2 separate regions of the Homo sapiens genome follow, and region 1 is linked to region 2. Evidence: promoter capture Hi-C in human tissues and cell types (Jung and others, 2019). All regions are on one chromosome and are shown on one strand. Each heading gives the region's core, a stretch centred on a gene start or on the middle of the fragment in contact. The rest is flanking DNA. Distances are from core to core; before and after follow the strand shown.

Region 1 (2,947 bases), core at 4-2,503, 240 kb after region 2:
CTGGCTCTTTTGCCCAGACTGGAGTGCAGTGGTGTGATCTCGGCACACCTCAGCCTCAACCTCCCAGGCTCAAGGGACCCTCCTGCCTCAGCTCCTTGAGTAGCTGAGACTACAGGCGCAAGCCACCAGGCCCAGCGAATTCTTGTATTTTTTGTTTTTAGAGATGAGGTCTCACTTTGTTGCCCAGCTGGTCTCGAACTCCTGGACTCAAGGGATCTGTCCACTTCAGCCTCCCAAAGTGTTGGGATTACAGGTGTGAGCCACTGTGCTTGGCCTCAGGCATTTCTTCATTAATAGCATTGCAAGAATGGCCTAATGTAGCTATTTTTATACAAAAAGATGAGCTATTTACAAGTCATTCTTTGCTACCCACCTCTATATTTGTCAAAAATTTGAAGCATAATATAGATTTCTTATATGATCATAAACGGCTTAAATTTGTTACATTTCTGTGTGTCAAGGAATGGTGCTGAGTTCCAAGATGATACCAGTTTTTACAGGTTTGTGGCCATCTTCGAAATGTCTGCTTAATAGGCCTTCTTTTTAAAGAAGACAAATCATCACTGAAAATTGAAGAGAAAAATCGAGTGTTATTTATATGAAACTTAAACATGTGACATTATGTATTCTTCTTCTTTGGGTACTTCCCAGATGTGATTATGATCTACATAGTTTTGCTAAGACAACTCAATAATTTGTAAAGAGGCTTAGCATTAAAATGTTCCCTATTTGTGATTACCCATTGTACTTTAAAATTGTTCCTGCTAATTTTTCATTTCTGATGATCCAAGTGAAGAGTATTTGCCAAACACCCACAGTATCAAATCTAAGATGCTAAAGGCAGCCTGCAAAGGGAACAAAGGGAAACGAATTCTAGAGGAGACTCTACAAGTTAAGGTTCTATGTAATTGTTGGGTAGATGCAAAACGGACTGGAGGAAACATTGCTTTTGATACACCTGCTGAATAGTTCCCTTTAAGGGTTGTCCTCCCTCACCCCCAAAGAAATTGGATTACTAGGTTGGGCTAGGTGGCTCATGTCTGTAATCCCAGCACTTTGGGAGGCCGAGGCAGGTGGATCACGAGGTCAGGAGATCGAGACCATCCTGACTAACAAGGTGAAACCCCGTCTCTACTAAAAATACAAAAAATTAGCCGGGCGTGGTGGCGGGCGCCTGTAGTCCCAGCTGCTTGGGAGGCTGAGGCAGGAGAATGCCGTGAACCCAGGAGGCGGAGCTTGCAGTGAGCCGAGATCACGCCACTGCACTCCAGCCTGGGCAGCAGAGCGAGACTCCATCTCAAAAAAAAAAAAAAAAAAAAAGAAAGAAAGAAAAGAAATTGGATTACTAATCTGAGACTTCAGAGTAGATGATGGGTAAACTGATTGATGATGCTAGTCTTCTAAGTATGTTTGTTTATATTCTACCTCACTCCACAAAAGATTTGAGTGTGTTTATAACATGCAATTTCCTCTAAGTTGAAAAAAAACGAATGAAAAAACAGAGTGGTGGAAAATATATAAAGAAAAGGCATATAGGCTGGGCTCAGTAGCTCATGCCTGTAATCCTAACACTTTGGGAGGCCAAGGTGGGAGGATCACTTGAAGCCTAGAATTCGAGACCAGCCTGGGCAAGGGAGACCCCATCTCTACAAAAAACAAAAAACCTTAGCCGGTACAATGGTGTGCTCCTGTAGTCCCAGCTACTTGGGAGGCTGAGGTGGGAGGATCACTTGAGTCCTGGAGTTTGAGGGTACAGTGTGCTGTGATCATGCCACTGTTCTCCAGTCTGGACAACAGAGCAAGAACTTGTCTCTCGGGGAAAAGGAAAAGAAAAAGAAAAAAAAAAAGAATAGTAATATAAATCTAGGCCAGATGTCTCTAAACTTGGCAGTGGTGCATTAGGATCACCTGGGGAACTTTTAAAGCTCCTGATGCCCATGTGGCACCCTGTACTAATTAAATCATAACGCCTGGGAGTGGGAGGCAGAGAGGAGCAGTAGTAAAAATTCCCAAATGTTTCTATGTATAGCAAAATTTGGAAACTAAGCTGATGTTCTCAGCCTTAAATGCACATTAGCATCACCTGGGAGGCTGTTGAAACTACTGATGTCAGAATCCATTAAATCATAGCCTCTGATGCTGGTTACCGGGCACTTAGTCTATTTGAAAGCTCCCCAGGTGATTGCAATGTACATGCTGAGTAGAGAACCACAGCACTGGGGGAAAGTTGGTATATAGTTACAAAAGGGATTTTTTTTAATGGGTTCTTTTATGGCTTAAGACCATGAAACTGGTTCTGAGCTTCCTGGTGGCCAAAGTAGATAGAAAAACACAGTCGGTTTTAATAATTTTGGTCATCTGCCATGCAAAAGCTTACCAGTTTCTTGAAAGCAAAAGAGCTTTTCTTCATAGATCTGAAATAAATGTCTAGTTTATTAGTCTTCTCACAGAGGATGTTGATGTCATGGATCACGATTTTATAAACACCCCACAATAAGTGACATATGGCAAGTTTCATATTATAGTTCCTAATAACCATCCCTCAGGGAAAGACAAGGACATGACCCTGAGTGCAGGGCTATAGGCTGTTGCGGTGGGTGTGTGGGAGTAGATGATAAAAGACAGGAAGAGAAACTGCCACACCCCTCTACAGTTTCCAGATAACATAGCCTTACCCAAAGGCGAAGCCTGGAATTGTGTACCTCCAGGATGTGGAAGGCGTGTCCTGTGTAATTAGAAATTATAATTTTCTATCAGCACATTTTAAGAATTATTTATTTATGTATTTATTTATTTAGAGACACAGGGTCTTTCTCTGTCATCCAGGCTGGAGTGCAATGGCACGATCATAGCTCACTGTAACCTTGAACTTCTGGGCTCAAGTGAACCTCTAGTCTTAGCCTCCTGAGTAGCTAGGACTATGGGCCCATGCCACCACACCTGGCAA
Region 2 (3,011 bases), core at 142-2,641:
GTACTCACCGGGCAGAAGCGCGGCCCAAGTCCTCCTTACTTCTGCGTGTCAATCCCCCTTCCCCAATTTGCATCCTTACTGCAATCCAGTCTCCCCCGTACAACCGTCACGGATCTGCGCTCCGAGCACCGCCCCCCCCCGCAACCAGCCACCAACCCCCGGCAGGGACCACAGGCACACGCCTCCGTCGGAAAAGTTGGGCAGACACTTCAGAACTTTTCTTTCACTTTGGGGAGAAGGAGGGAGTTGGAGAAGTGGGGGCGAGGGGTGTTAAAGCACTGGGCCATTCTCTGCAACATCTCCCCGCGCCCCCCAACAAGTTGCCCCTCCTCGTGCACACAGCGAGGTGACAGCGCAGGGCACCAAACTGCTGAGGGAAGGAGATGCCTGCAGCCATCTCAGCGGGGCTGGCGGACGCGACCCGACAGTCACCGGAAAAACAGTGGTGTCGGTCTTCCCCATCACCTCCCCTCCCCATCCCACAATAAAGCGCACGGAAGATGTCTGGGAGTACCTGGCCCTGCCACAGGAGCTGGGGAGGAGAGCGATCTCACCCCCTCCATCCCTCCCGGCAGGTGGGCCGCGGTCAGATACGTTTGGCCCGCAAGTCCTTTTCGGACACGTTGGCATCTGCTCCCAAAGAGCGCCCCAGCAGGACCCGGTCACCGGGGTCTTCCAGAGGGGCGGTAGCCACCGCACAGGAGCCAGCGGCATCCCCCAAGGAGCCGCAAGCCCTACCTGGCTTAACCCCCGGACATGTGTGTCGCTACCGATCGAAGAACCCAAACACCCCGAGATTTCCCTCCTCTAGGCAGGTGAAAACCCCACGGAACTCTCCGCAGCGCTGCCTGCCCAGCCGGCCGTGTCTCGCCGTCCCCGAGGCCTCGGGGGCTCCCAGCACCTCCACCCAAATCCCACCTGTGCGGGCTCGGGAGTCCGAGGGCGCTGACAGCTGCTGCCGCCGCATCCCGGATCTCCAAAGTGCGGCGGGAGCGGCCAGGGAACCTGCAGGACACCGCCGGGCCAAGGGGCTTGGGAAGGTCTGGGGGCCCCCGGCGCCGCACCCCTGCTTACCTGGCGTTCGCTGGGCCCCGGCTGGGGCATCCGCCTGGTGCGCGCCGCTCGGAGCGCTCGCTGCGCACCTGGCCGCTGCCGCCGCCCGCCCGGCCCCAGCCCTGGCCGCCGCGCTAGCGCTGCATGGCGCACGGGGGCTGGCCGGGGGCCCGGGGAAGCGTGTCTAGTTGGCGGCGGCACCTCCGGCTCTCGCGGCTCGCTAGTGGCTCCCCCGCCTTTCCCCGCCCCGCGTCCGTGCACCCTTCCTCTGCAGCCGCCCTTTTGCCTCCGCTCCGCCGGACCGGCCAAACTGGTTTCTCCGCTCGGGGAGGTGCCTCTGGTTTCCCTCCAGCAGCCGCGGCCGCCGAGCCTCGCTGGGGCTGGGGCTGGGGCTGGAGGCGGGCTCGGCCTTCTCCCCTCCCTTTTTCCCTCCCTAGGGCGGAGAGGGGCTGGACTGCAAGCCCCGGGGCGGCCCGAGGCGGCCCAGGTCCAGCTCCTGCCCCACGCCCTCCGTGCGTCCTGGAGTCAGGTGGGCACCCCTTTCAGTCTTCCGAGCCCAGCCTACGAGCCCTTGCCTCGCCCAGCCTGAGACCCAGTTGCTGCGGCTGCTCTTAGCTCCCCGGGGGCCGCACTCGCCACCACACCTCTCCAGCCCAGCGTCACTTTCCCGCTGCCCTTGGCTGGCTTGGCCGTCACCCCGGGTCGAGGACTGAGCCAGCCTGGAAAGCTGGCGGGGCCGCGGCGCGCCCGGGACCTGAGCTCCCTCGGTAAGGGGAGCTGTGTCCTCTTGATGCCAAGTCATGTTTGGGGACCGGTCACCGAATGCGCGTCAAAGTTCGCCGCGTGGAGGGTGAAGAAAGAGGCTGCGCCTCAAGACTTCCAGAAACGTATCCTGTGATTGCAGCCAGCAGGCTTTCTGCCGAGTCCAAACGCTATCGAGTTTTTTTGGGTTTGGAGTCAAAAGGAGTTAAGGTGCGGCCCGTGAACCACGCGGTGTAGGTGGAAATTTTGGACTCAGCGCCTCGTTGCTGGCTGGTGTCTGAGCGGGTGAATCGTGCCTCCCTGGCAGTATAGACATTACCCTCCTTCTTGAGTAGACTTTTGCCGCTCCCCGACTATGGACCGAGTCGTTGGGATAAGAATGGAGGAAAATCAAAGATCAGAGTTTGCTTAAAATGCAGTAGGGGAGCCAGGACTCCCACACGATTCCCAGTCACCTAGAGGCTCACATCTATGCCCAAGAGTCCAGACTCCCAACTGGGTCATCACAGAGGCTTCCTACAGGAGGCCGTGCTTGATGGGACTCAAAGATCCACAGCTTTAAGGATCAGAGTTGTGTAGAGAGGGTATTCAACGGGTGGCCAACTGGTAGAATCTTGTCTGATACCAACCCCGAGGCTGCTCTAGGCTTCTTTTTCATGAGTCAAACTTGATCTCTGACTAGGTGCTGGTCAGTCACTCAATCTATCCAGGCCTCAGTTTCCTCATTTGTAAAATGAGATTGGACCAGATGGTCTCTTCCAGCACTTATATTCTGAAGCTAACGACAGAACAAAGGTACCGATGCAAGAGAACATAGGGCCTGTTGGTGACACTGGTTGATCTAAGACATTTAGACTTGTTTTTGGTAGCACCTGCAAACCGTTGACAATTTAGGACCGAGCATGAGCATGATCAAGGTTGTGTTTTAGGGAAAATAATAGGGAGATAGTCTAGAGAGGATAAAACTGAAGATGGGAGAATCACTTGAGAGGCTGGGACAGCGACATACGGAGGAGTTGCCAGGGGAAGTAAAAAGGAGGAAATTCAAGGGACACCACAGAAGAGAGATAGGGCACGAAGTGGCCACAACCTGCAACTGACTGGGAGAGGGGAGCAATGGAAGGTGAGCCAGGTTCTCAAGACTGGGTTATGGCATGCAAGGAGCAGCAGACTCCAAAGGAGGGAAGCCGTTTAGG

Evidence for each region. The method cuts DNA at HindIII sites, captures the fragments that hold promoters and counts their contacts. A contact is called where the count stands out against the background at its distance.
Region 1: a contact is called between a fragment that was not itself captured here and the fragment with the promoter of ATP8B1 in region 2, in 1 of the 25 tissues and cell types used here (IMR-90 fibroblasts).

The regions. Positions count from the first base shown.
Region 1 is chr18:58,039,227-58,042,173 of GRCh38, forward strand. No RefSeq gene overlaps it. Among named protein-coding and RNA genes, the nearest start is that of NEDD4L, 3.5 kb to the right of the region's middle. RefSeq lists a cis regulatory region at 2,393-2,805. The HindIII fragment of the contact is 4,161 bases long and covers 1-2,947 here.
Region 2 is chr18:57,801,924-57,804,934 of GRCh38, forward strand. ATP8B1 (ATPase phospholipid transporting 8B1) reads right to left here and starts at 1,392. Exons shown (of 28, transcript NM_001374385.1): 1 at 1,075-1,392. RefSeq lists an enhancer at 1,012-1,649. The HindIII fragment of the contact is 14,543 bases long and covers 1-3,011 here.